Linked DNA regions of Homo sapiens: region 2 is linked to region 1. Evidence: promoter capture Hi-C in 16 types of primary human blood cells and fetal thymus (Javierre and others, 2016). All regions are on one chromosome and are shown on one strand. Each heading gives the region's core, a stretch centred on a gene start or on the middle of the fragment in contact. The rest is flanking DNA. Distances are from core to core; before and after follow the strand shown.

What was found. Contacts are between HindIII fragments. The CHiCAGO score rates a contact against its expected background, and 5 or more counts as called.
Region 2: a contact is called between the fragment with the promoter of GCH1 here and a fragment that was not itself captured in region 1, in 5 of 17 cell types (total CD4 T cells, non-activated CD4 T cells, activated CD4 T cells and 2 more). The highest score is 8.3, in total CD4 T cells.

What each region holds. Positions count from the first base shown.
Region 1 is chr14:57,383,900-57,390,252 of GRCh38, reverse strand. No RefSeq gene overlaps it. Among named protein-coding and RNA genes, the nearest start is that of NAA30, 3.5 kb to the left of the region's middle. The HindIII fragment of the contact is 1,551 bases long and covers 2,676-4,226 here.
Region 2 is chr14:54,900,001-54,906,353 of GRCh38, reverse strand. It overlaps GCH1 (GTP cyclohydrolase 1), which reads left to right and starts at 3,528. Exons shown (of 6, transcript NM_000161.3): 1 at 3,528-4,033. The coding sequence starts at 3,691. RefSeq lists silencers at 3,174-3,813, 4,224-4,273, 4,284-4,343. The HindIII fragment of the contact is 1,914 bases long and covers 3,081-4,994 here.

The DNA of each region.
Region 1 (6,353 bases), core at 2,202-4,701:
GAGCTGTAGCGAATCTCGCCAATTCGGGGCCTGTGGAACAAGCCGTTTACAAGTCACCTAAAAATGCCCTTTTAAAGCTGCACAGCGTTTAATGTTTGCCCTGACCAGGGGCAAGGAGGATGGGGGAGGAGCGATTAAAAATGGAGCAAATCAGAGAAGCCGACCGAAAAAGAAAGGAAGATTTGAGCTGTGAAAATATGGGGATGGCTGTCGAAACGTGGTGGTTTGCAGTGTGAATTAAGTTCAGCTGGCCCTTGCCACTTTGAGGCAAGGGAGTCAGCCCTCTTCCTCTCCCTCCTTACTCTGCTCCTCGCACCCAGTAAAATTGGAGGCAAAAGTGACTGACAGGTGTTGGGCAATTGCTAGCACACCTGGGGAAGGGTTAGAGAGAGGTGGTGAAAGAGAGTGACCAGGGCTAAGAAGCACACTCCTAAACTTGTGACACAAATAGGTTAGGAAGCACTGGTAAACAGGTGGCCTGATCCTCCCAGGGGATCTGCCTATCGAGTGCAAAGGGGATAGAACTTGAGCTTGTGGCTGGGCGCCTTCTGCTCTAGTCCACAATTGACTCCCGGCAGGTCTGAGCTGAGACAGGTAGTGTAACTCACCCGCTCACTGAACAAATTCGGTTTTGTTAAAAACCTGATTTATAGAGCTGGTCTGGTGTGCCGCAGATGGACGTTTTCAATATATAATTCTATGACGGAACACGTTTGCAACTTTTTGCCGTAATCTAAACTCTATGTATAAAGTATTTATTATGCTCGCAGATTCTGTGCCTCTGAAATCCAGACAGAGCACAACTGGGATGGCTTTTCTCTACTCCATTATGCGTAGAGCTTCAGTTGGAAGACTCTAAGGCTGAGGAGTAGAATTATTTGAAAACTTCACTTTCACCGCTGATGGTTGATGCAGGATAAAGGCTGGAGGCCTCAGTTCTAGTCCATGTAGACCTCTCCCGGTGGTCTTTTAGCATTGATTGGTTTGGGCTTTGTCACAGCCTGGTGGCTGGGTTCCACGGCAAGTATCGTGCGAGAAAGTCAATCAGAAGCATATTACCCATTATAACCTAGCCTTAGAAGTCATGTAGTCTCTAGCCAGGTGCGGTGCCTCACGCCTGTAATCCTGGCATTTTGGGAGGCCCAGGCGGGAGGATCTCTTGAGGCCAGGAGTTCGAGACCAGCCTGGCCAACACAGTGAAACCTCATCTCTGCCGAAAAATACAAAAATTAGCCGGGCGTGGTAGCTCATGCCTGTAGTCCCAGCTACTCAGGAGGCTGAGGAGAATCACTTGAACCCGGGAGGCGGAGGTTGCAGTAAGCCGAGATTGCGCCACTGCACTCCAGCCTGGGCAACACAGGGAGACTCCCTCTCATCAAAAAGAAACAAAAAACAAGTTATGTAGTGTCAGTTCTGCTGCATTGTATCTAGGCAGACACAAAATTATATCCAGTTTTGACAGGAGGGGAAATAGACTCTACTCTTGGTGGAGAGAGGCAAGGTTCTCAAAGAGCATATGGGACCAGAAATATTGCTGTGGCCATTTTCAGAATGTATAACTTGCTACAGATACATTGAAAACCTCCTAAACACCTTGATGTGTGGGGGATATAAATGAGATGTATAAGTACAGCGTGATCCCTTTTCTGTCTTTTAAAAAGCACAAAACAAAACCATGTTTCCAAATGTGCATACATTGTTTAAAGATACATGTTTTTCAAAGTTTCTAAGTGTAACCTGGGTAGTCAGCCAATGAAACAATGATCTGTTCAAATCATGGTGGAAAAACTGGCCCAAGAGGCACCAGATAATTCCATAAGAGATGTTTAAGGGTGAATTTTACTTAGAAAAATACCTCTCAGTAATTTACTTTTAAATGTAAGCCCTTCCTAAAAAGCATGTACCTTCACTGTAGTGAATGAATGGCAGCAGGCCTTCCTGTTCTTTCTGTGTTGCAACTTGGCATTGAGCTCTGTCACACTGAGGAGCTGACCAGATGTTGTCTCAAAGTGGTTTTCAGAAAGTCAAGAGTTGTAAGGACCTTCTTGAGGCCAGGGAGTAAATGTTAGTCACTTTGTATTCACATATCAAACACATAAAAGGGAAATTGTTAAGCTTTTTGACTGAAGTACACCAGTCTCTCATTCAGTAACCTAGAATGCTTATAATGACAAAGTAAATTCTGACCTCCTCAATAACTAGTGGGGTAATTCTAATGTCTCAGCCCCAGTGATTTTTCTTTATATCCCAGTATTAAAATTACAATGTTGGCCTTCTAAATCAGATGACATCTCTAAAAAAAATTGCCTTTATAACTTATGAAATCTTTTCTATTTGATTCATGTTTACTTGATAGGATGATAGCACTATTTTAGGCATAGAAATAGGATTAGTTCACTCTAATGCTTTAGACATATTTACTATTATGAGACTCTGAAAAAACAACTACCTCCATGAGCAATACTTCATAGGAAAGAATGGGCTCAGAGCAAGGTGAGTGTAGCAGTGATACTCTTCTGTGTGGTTAGTTGATATTTTCATTGTTTTGTAATATCCTATGAAGCAACAGCCATTTTTTCTTTTCTTTTTTTTTCTTTTTTTTTTTTTTTTACTATTGTTGTTCTCTTTTGAGGAAGAAGAGAACATGCCTTAATTTTTTAGAAGAAAAAAAAGCTTCTCATTAAATCAATTAAAATAACCAATAGCAATTTTAAAACAACATCCTGAAGCAATTTATTGAAATCAGCTTGGAAGGAGAAAAATTTCTATTTAATTCTTTCTAACAGTGAGGCATTTTTCTCTTATTGGCTAGGTTTAGAGAGAAAACCTAGCTGTGTACCTACCTGAAAGGTAACTGTGGGAATGAATAATGGAAAGATGCTTTAAGTTCCCTTGACACAGCAGGATGACATTGTTATGTGCCATAGGCACACATACTAAATAATTTAAATATTTGTGTAGTTTTATTTTACATGTCATGTGGTTCTTAATCCCACTAATCCTATCTATTATACATAAAGCCCTGAAAATGAATGTCCTTAACTTTGTTTCATCTTGAATGAAAGAAAGAACATACATCAAATTTGAGAGCTGAAGAACTTAACCAAAGGATGAATATTAGTATATTGTTGTATTACCTGTAATCTTAGAACACTCTGAGATGCCCAGGTAAAAGACTAACAATTTGATTCTTCCCTTCGAATTTGGGGAATGACAGTCTGTTCTTTAAACTTCTTTCCCCTTGCCAGTAGTGGATGGCAGTACCAATTGTAGGTAGGCATCAATTTTGTTTGTAGAACTGAGGCCTCAGAGGACTATGAAGAACCAGAGAGGGTTGTGGTCAAATGGTCCCCATTTCCATTATTTTCAACCTCACACTAACTCTTCATGACCTGCCTGAAGACATGGTCAGGGTGATTCTCACAGATACACCTGGGCTGGTGAGACATGTTGGAGAGAATCATATATTCCTACATATTAGAGCCAAAAAATTTTTGGTCTCTAATTTAGCTATGCCTTCAGCTGTCTAGAATTGTTTTAACCTGTCTCCAAGGCCAGCTTCATCCAACAGCAACTGTCCTCAACCACTACTTGCTTCACACTCTCAGCAGATAACCCTGCCTCCATTTCACTAAGAAAAGTGAACTATTTCATAGGTGTGCCTTCTACTGCCATACCTATAAGTTCATCTGTATCTGAACTTACCCTTACCTCCTCCCTCCCAGTCTTAAGAGGGTGGAAGATGGATCAATTCTTCATGACTAATACCTCCCTCTACCTGTGGGCTTGATGCTTTCTCTTTCAGGCTCCTTTAGAACCTGTCCCATCATTGTTTCTCTCTCCTGAATTTTCCATGTTACCTTTGCTAGCTACTGCCTCAAAGTTTATAAACATGCCCCATTTAGAGATTTCTCCCACTACCATCCTTTTCCTGCCTCCTTTTCACCACAAACTCCTAATCTGCAATAGGTATCCACTGTCTCTACTCAGGTGCAGGTTCACTCTTCATTGGTGGGTTGGCTTCAATCTCAGCCCTTCTTCAAACAACACTCTGGCAAAAAATCACCTGTTATGTCCTAACTAGACTCTTCCAGTTCTCACATCACTTTATTCCATCGTGGCATTTCATCCTGCTGTGTCCTTCCAGAAACTCTTCCCTTGGCTTCTCCACTCTCTCTTGCCCTCCTTTGGACATTCTTTCTCAGTTGTTCTTGATAATAGAAGCTTTTAATAATAACAATAGCTACCATTTATTGTGGTCTTCCCATGTATTAAGCATGTTATAAATAATAGCTCATTTAGTTCTTATGATAACCCTATGAATTGGTGGTCAGAAGCCAGACCAGAATTGGATCACTGGCCTATTCCTGAGCCAGACACTGGAAAGGGGCTGGATTTACTCTTATGTCAATCAGGCCTGTCTGAGATTGAGTATGAGGTGAGCTTCTCCTGATGTATGTGGCTGGGGGATGAAGGAGTATCTAAGTAAAATTGGAGTTCAGATCCTGGCTCTGCCAATTACTGGCTGTGTGGTGTTGACAACTTAATGTGTCTGGGCTTCAGATTCCTCATATCGGATATGGATAATATTACATGCCTTGTAGGGTTTTGGAAGGGTAAAATGAATTATTATATGTAAAGTGTTTAATACAGAGAATATAGGAAGCCCCCGTAAATGTTAGCTGATCTCCCATCCCACCCATCCATCCTCAACATTTCTACCACTGCCACCCTTACAAAATACAAACCTATTTTGTCACTCCCTGGCTTAAATCTCTTCAGAGACTCCCATAGCCTAATAATCAAATCTAAACTTTGGTTAGGGTGCTTTGGCCACAAGCTCAATCTGGCTTTAAAAAAAAATAAGGAAATGAGACAGTCAGAGGCAGAGCGAGGTTCGGGATTAGTTGTTTCATGATATCATTGTGAACCCAAGTTTCTGTCTCTCTCCTTCCATTCACAGAATCAGCTCCATCCTAATGCTGATTTCCTTCATTGTTATAATATGGCTGCCAAAAGTGTTTGGGGCTAAGTGCTTCTTTATTCATGCCCAGTAAGAGGAAGGGAGAGGCTTTCAGTAACTCGCAGATTTACTTTTCCAGAAACCTCTAACCAACTTCTCTGGCTATGTTCTTGGTTAGAATATATCACATGCTATTTCTGAGTCAATCACTGGAAGGAGATTAAGAGTGAGGTGAGCTTCCTTGGAGGTGTATGGGTGTGTGGAAAAGGGATGTATACTAAACAAAATTGGGTTTGTGTTAGGAAGAAGAATGTGGAGTGGATGCTGTTAAGGCAACCACTTATGTTCACTACATAAACAAAGCCCTTTTGGTGATCTTACCTTGAAGCAGCAGTTACTTCTTGCCATTCACAGCTTCAACCCAAAATATTCAATTAATAATTATTGTGTATATAAATGAATGACCTTTGAACCAAGTAACTTGCACTTGCCAAAATGTACAAGATGATTTCTGGCCTCTGTGTCTGTGCTGATGGTCCCTGGAATCATCACCCCTCATAATGCACCCCCCTTCCCTCTCTTCTCTTTCTCTCTCTGTCACACACACACACACCACACACACCTCCCCACCTCTCGCAAAACTGGCTTCTACCTACTCTGTGAGTGCTGCAGACTTCTGTGATCGTTGTTTTTCTGTTGCTTCTTCTAGAAGTCTTTTAAGGGTAGGAATTATGTCTTATTCCTCTTTTTATTGGTATATACATAATACATTATTTTGAATACAAGAATGAAAGATTGATCTTGTTCTATACCTTTTCAGAATGTAGATCTCACTCTTGGTGTATATACCTTTAACTAAGTTTACTTATATAGAACTTCTCATCTTATATATGATATACTTGGGTCTTAAGATTATTTTACTTAAAATAATCACAGATGCTTCTTCTTCTTCTTCTTCTTCTTCTTCTTCTTCTTATTATTATTATTATCATTATTATTATTTGAGACAGGGGTTTTGCTCTGTCACCCAGGCTGGAGTGCAGTGGCACAATCTCAGCTCACTGCAACCTCCACCTCCCAGGCTCAGGTGATTCTCCCACCTCAGCCTGCTCCGTAGCTGGGACCACAGGCATGCGCCACCACACCTGGCTAATTTTTTACATTTTTGATAGAGACGAAGTTTCACCATGTTGGCCAGGCTGGTCTCGAACTCCTGAGCTCAAGCAATACACCTGCCTTGGCCTCCCAAAGTGCTGGGATTACAGGCATGAGCCACCGCGCCCGGCCCCAGATGCATTTTTTATTATTAAAATGAACACTTTGAGGCAATGCGTTCAATAACAATACAACAGTCTACATACACACGGTTGACTGAATTATTTTGGCTTTA
Region 2 (6,353 bases), core at 2,279-4,778, 2.5 Mb after region 1:
CAAATTGAAACTGTGGTTTTCTTCTGCTGTTATACCACAACAACAGTCAACACAGAAGACTCTGTGACCAAATGGGTGGGGGTTTTCTCCCACACACCAAGCAGGGGACATCAGCTAGGTGTCCTCCCTCTTATTTAATTCAATTCTGATTCTGCCTACCTGGAGATAGCTGTAGATCCCACAAGTTGAAGGCTCAGTCCCCAACACTGGCCCCTCCTTTCCACCACTCACAAGTCTGGGCCTCTGGAACTTTTGATTGACTGGCTTCAAGTTGGGGTTTCCACAACCCCCTCTTTGGGTTCAATTAATTTGCTAGAGTGACTCAAAGAACTCAGGGAAACACTTACGTTTACCAGTTTATTATGAAGGATATTACAAAAGATACAGATGAAAAGATGCATAGGGTGAGGTATGGGGTAAGAGGTATGGAGTTTCCATGCCCTCCCTGGGCACACCACCCTCCAGGAACCTCCACATATTCAGCTGTCCAAAACCTCCCTGAGCCCTGCCGTCTGGGCCTTTTATGTTCGTTGTATAGGCATGATTGAAGCATGGACAGCCGTGTCAAGGTGTGATTGACCTCTCTGTGCAGCCATGCTTCCTCCAGGGTATGAGGCAGGACCCTGTTTGCAATGAGGGTTTATGATCCGTAATCAGAAAGGCGGGAGATGATTAGAGTCCTGCCTTTAGTGAGTGGAAGGGGAGCAGAAGGTGAGAGAGAGAGAGAGAGAGAGAGAGAGAGAGATTGATTCTATTTTCTGAGGCCTAAAGTGCCCCAACATTGTAACAAAAGACTGTGAGTTATGAACCAGGTACTATGGCTGAAAACCTACATATACATGTATCATCATATCACACTTGGCAAACAACTCTTTGTACATTTCTGTAGCACTGCAGTGTTCAGTCTCTGACTTGGTGTGTCTTTCTCATCTGCCTCTTTGTTCTGCTGCTGTCCTAGAAATTAGAGACTTTAAAAAATTCCTTGGCTTTTTGGTAGAAAGAAACTCCCAGACTGGGTCCAAGCTGAAAATGAATCCCTTACTGGGTGAAAAACATGGATGCGGTAACAATTCCTGGCTGTAAATGCTCATAATATTACTGTTGAACCATTTTATGCTAATAAATTATCTGGGACCTACTTCCCTTTTGGTTTATTCCTCTTTTTTTCTCCTGTTGCTACTTATAACCATCCTTGTCAACTATCTACATTTTACTATTAAATTATTCATATAATGTTGGTGATTTCAAAGTTTTCTTGTATTATTTTTGGGCATTTGGCCGAAAGGCACTGCCTCCATTTTACAAGTTAGCATGTATCCAGAGGCCCTGTCCTGCAACAAAGGTGCAGGTGCCTCAGTGGCAATACGTGTAAGAAAATGTTAATTTTTAGGGTAAAAATTTCATTAGAAACTGTCTTTGTGGAATACAATATTAGTTAATCTTTACACATGTTTTTAAAGGAAGACGAAAGATTGCCACTAAAAATAAATTCGTACTGAAAGCATCTCTATCTACTCTCTCCATTTTTAAAGTACCTCACTTAGTATCTTTGTTTTCATTTGTTAAATGCAAGGTCATCCTTTGAATGTTGTCTTCAACTATGCTTGAAATAGCTTGAGACCCAGCAGATAATTCTGACCAGGAGGTATCAGCAGACAGTGGGCAGCACAGTTAGAGGAAAAAAATGTTGCAGGGCCCCACTCCCAATAAAAACCTACAATAAAAAATTTAAAAATTTTAATAAAGAGGAAAATGACAAAGAGGTTTTCCAAAGGATGTTCATATTCTCTATTTAAAAACCCCACTGGGCCGGGTACGGTGGCTCAGGCCTATAATCCTGAGCCCTGGAGTTCGAGACCAGCTTTGGCAACATGGTGAAACCTTATCTCTACCAAAAATACAAAAATTAGCCAGTCTCATAACCCGCTCTTAAATAAATAGATTAAAATTTAAAAATAAATAAATAAATAAATAAATAAATAAATAAATAACCCCACTGATATGAACATTTCTTCCATTTTGGAGTAAAGGTGCCTACAAGGCTAGGCAATGTCCATATTTCTTTCCTGAATGTTTCCAACGGGGCTGCGCCTAGAGCAGATGTATCATAAATACTAATTACTTATTATAATGACCAAGCTACATTGTTAGCATAGAATAATTCCACAGGCTTCCCTATTGGTTTGTTTGATCCTAAGCCTATTAATACCTGCTTCTATGTCAGAAAATCTACATTAGGCCAGGCATGGTGGCTCACACCTGTAATCCCAGCACTTTGGGAGGCCGAGGCAGGTGGATCACCTGAGGTCAGGAGTTCGAGACCAGCCTGGCCAACATGGCAAAACCCCACCTCTCCTAAAAATACAAAAATTTAGCCGGGCATGGTGGCAGGTGCCTGTAATCCCAGCTACTCAGGAGGCTGAGGCAGGAGAATCGTTTGAACCCAGGAGGCGGAGGATGAAGTGAGCCTCAAAAAAAAAAAAAGAAAAAAAATATTATTTTGATACATGTTTTAAAGCTCACCTTCGGCATTATGAGATAATCCCTCAAGTGAGGAAAAAGGTCCATTTATTAATCTCAAAGAAAACAGTTACAGCAGATGTCACTGGTTAAGAGTTCAGTTGGTGAATAGCATTTCACAATTTGTACCAACATCTGGGGAAAGACGCTTTGCATGGAACTGTAAAACAATTGAGCACCAAATCTGCACAACTGCGTTTCTAGAAAATGCGATGGGTTTTATAGAGATGAGGTCTTGCTATGTTTTCCAGGCTGGTCTCGAACTCTTGGCCTCAAGCGATCCTCCCGCCTCGGTCTCCCCAAGCGCCGGGAGTACAGGCGTGAGCCACCGACGGAAATGGATTTTAAGTGAAAGTCCTATCTTCGTTTGCAAATCAATTTTTCCAGGATCAAAGTTCTAGCAACCATAAATCCTATCCTTCTAGACATAGGGACCCACATAAGGGCCACTTGATGTGACACTTGCCCCGACAGCGGTGCCACCTGGCCCCTAGGTGGCAGGTGCGTTTTTAACTAAACCCAAGAGTCTGAAGTCACATTATTCTCTTGCCTTGAAAGCTTAAGAGTTGGTTCCTAATCGGTGGCTTAACTCGGTCTCTCTCCAGGCAAGGCCACCTGTTTGCTGATCTTTCACAGGGCGAGGGGACCGGAGCCCTTCAATGCAGCGCCCTCTTGGCCTGAAGAGGGGGCGACTGGGCGCCCAGACCGCGTCTTTCTCACTGAGATCCCAGCTCCTGGACGACTGCCTCTTTTCGGGTTCGGCTCATTCCGCAATAAGTGGAGGGGTCCCGCCTGATCCTAGGGGCCGGCGCCCTTTTCCTTCCCTCCCTGCGCTTGCGAACCCCTCCGGGCGTCTCCGGAGCCGCGACCCCTGCTGGGGACCCCGGGGGCGGGAGGCCGAGGGGCGCGGCGAGGGCCGTGACGCGAGGCGGGGCCGGCCAATGGGAGCGCTCCGCGGCGCAGGCTGAGCCGCCGGGCCATAAAAAGGAGGCGCGGCCGGGCTTTCCAGCCTGTGGCCGCTCCCGGCTCGGAGTGTGATCTAAGCAGGTTGCGTACCTTCCTCAGGTGACTCCGGCCACAGCCCATTGTCCGCGGCCACCGGCGGAGTTTAGCCGCAGACCTCGAAGCGCCCCGGGGTCCTTCCCGAACGGCAGCGGCTGCGGCGGGTCCATGGAGAAGGGCCCTGTGCGGGCACCGGCGGAGAAGCCGCGGGGCGCCAGGTGCAGCAATGGGTTCCCCGAGCGGGATCCGCCGCGGCCCGGGCCCAGCAGGCCGGCGGAGAAGCCCCCGCGGCCCGAGGCCAAGAGCGCGCAGCCCGCGGACGGCTGGAAGGGCGAGCGGCCCCGCAGCGAGGAGGATAACGAGCTGAACCTCCCTAACCTGGCAGCCGCCTACTCGTCCATCCTGAGCTCGCTGGGCGAGAACCCCCAGCGGCAAGGGCTGCTCAAGACGCCCTGGAGGGCGGCCTCGGCCATGCAGTTCTTCACCAAGGGCTACCAGGAGACCATCTCAGGTCAGTGCGCCCGCGGGCTGCTAGAGCGTGCGGGCGGCGGGGGCGGTGCTTGCAGGAAACGCGCGCCGGCTCCAGGAAGTTTCCGGAGTTGCCTCACTTTTGGCGCAGGAAGCCGGGCGCTGTCACCTCCGAACCCGCCCTAGCCTGCCGCCCTGCCGAGGCCCTGCGTGGGGCACAGTCGGGGCTTCCTGGGTGGCAGCGACCTCTCAGCCCCGGAACTCGCTGCAGCCGCCTTCCAGGGGCCCTTCCCGCTCCCAGCGCGCAGCCCTCCTAGAACGCCCCGGGTGGGCGTGGACGGGAGCCCGGAGCCCTCTCGCCTGAGCGCCCAGCGCGGGATTCTCGGGGTACCTGCGGTTCCAAACTTGCCCACGATAAGGATCACCTGGGCACTTGCTGCGGCGACGGCTTCCTGGGTAGTTCCTTATTGAGATCCCATTGTCAGGGTGTGTATCTGGATTGAAGCCTCGGCGCGATCCTTCCCCGAAACCTCGGGGACCTGCATTCCCACTGATTTGCCAGGGGATCGGAGTCTTAGAGTTGTGCTTTTTTTTTTGTCCACCTCAAGTTTACTCCAGTTCAGGACATTTACAAAATTCGGCACAATTTTGGGCACGGGCTTCCCCGGAGTTTGAGGTGTGAGGTTGATTGGGTGAGTTTGCTGCTGAAATCTGTTTCCTCCCCCCACCCCCAACCCCGCAAAAAGCAGTAAAGCTACTCCGGGATTCGGAGGGCTCCGTGGGTTCCAGGACTCAGTCTCATCCCCGCACCCTCCCACCCTAAAATAAAGCCGGGTTGACCCGGTGCTGTTAGCGTCTGAGGCGTGTCGGCTTTTCACCCAGAGGGTGGGGATGCAATCAGTGTGGGTAGGATGCAAGATGGGGTGATGGAGAGTGGAAAATGGGGACTTTGCTGCCTGTTGGCCAGAGAAGCAGTATTGGTCTGTGTTTAAAAAAATAAAGCTTCTGGCTTCTACAGCTGGGACCAAAGACATTATTTTCCAGTCTACACCTTCCGTGTGTCTTGGTGACATTTATTTATTTGCCCTAAGAAGCATTCTACCGTTCACTGTTTTTTGAAAGAAAAACAGTGCGCTGGAAAGGCAATCTCCCTGCCCCAGTTATTTCTCTGAAGGAGTGTAGAGCGATTCCACCAAATAGACCCTGGGAAAAAGAAAGTTATTTTTTGCCCAGTCTTCCACACCCCAAAGGAAGGGTGGGAAATCAGAATGTGAAAGAGACGGGGCCCCAAAAGGAAATGATGCTACACTCTAAAACCGGCAGTGACTTCTAGTTCTGTTTCCAAATTCACTTTTTTTTACCCCTCAATTGCAAAAGTTTGGAATCTCAGAAGAGATTTCAAAATACAAAGACTGAAAAATAAACTTTCAGTTTTCTGTGGGATCAGCTCTTTGGAGGTCTAGGGCTTTAAATTTGTGTGTGTGTGTGTGTGTGTGTGTGTGTGTGTGTGTGTGTGTGAGATATTTCACAATGTAATGAAATGTCTTCTTAAGGCCTTACTCATTTTGCCCCTTGCAGACACAGAAAGTGGTTTACTTCACAGCATCGGCCAGGCTTTGGGAATCCTCCCTTAAAGAGAATTCATAGGACAGTGTTCTGTAATCTAGCATGGATCTAATTACCCAAAGAGAGAGGAATTTCTGACCCTGAGACAGGTCACAGAATTATCTAAAGTGACTCACAGATTTACTTGAGAAATGGTTAGCTGAAATATCTCATGAGCGAAGATTCATTTAAAGAGGATTAATAACTGCAAAGAACACATCATTCCACATTAGAAAACTGTTCTGGTTGGCCGAGCTCGGTGCTCACGCCTGTAATCCCAGCACTTTGGGAGGCCGAGGTGGGCGGATCACCTGAGGTCAGGAGTTCAAGACCAGCCCGGTCAACATGGCGAAACCCCGTCTCTACTAAAGATACAAAAAAATTAGCCGGGTGTGATGGCGGGCGCCTGTAGTCCCAGCTACTCGGGAGGCTGAGGCAGGAGAATCACTTGAACCCAGGAGGAGGAGGTTGCAGTGAGCCGAGATTGCACCACTGCACTCCAGCCTGGACGACAGAGGGAGACTCTGTCTCCAGAAAAAACAAAAAAAACAAAAAAACTGTTCTGGTCAAGTTTTACTATTTAAAAAGTCCATGGGCCGGGCGCGGTGGCTCACACCTGTAATCCCAGCACTTTGGGAGGCCGAGGCGGGCGGATCACCTGAGGTCAGGAGTTCGAGACCAGCCTGGCCAACATGGGAAAACCCATTCTCTACCAAAAATACAAAAATTAGCCGGGCATGGTGTCAGGTGCCTGTAAT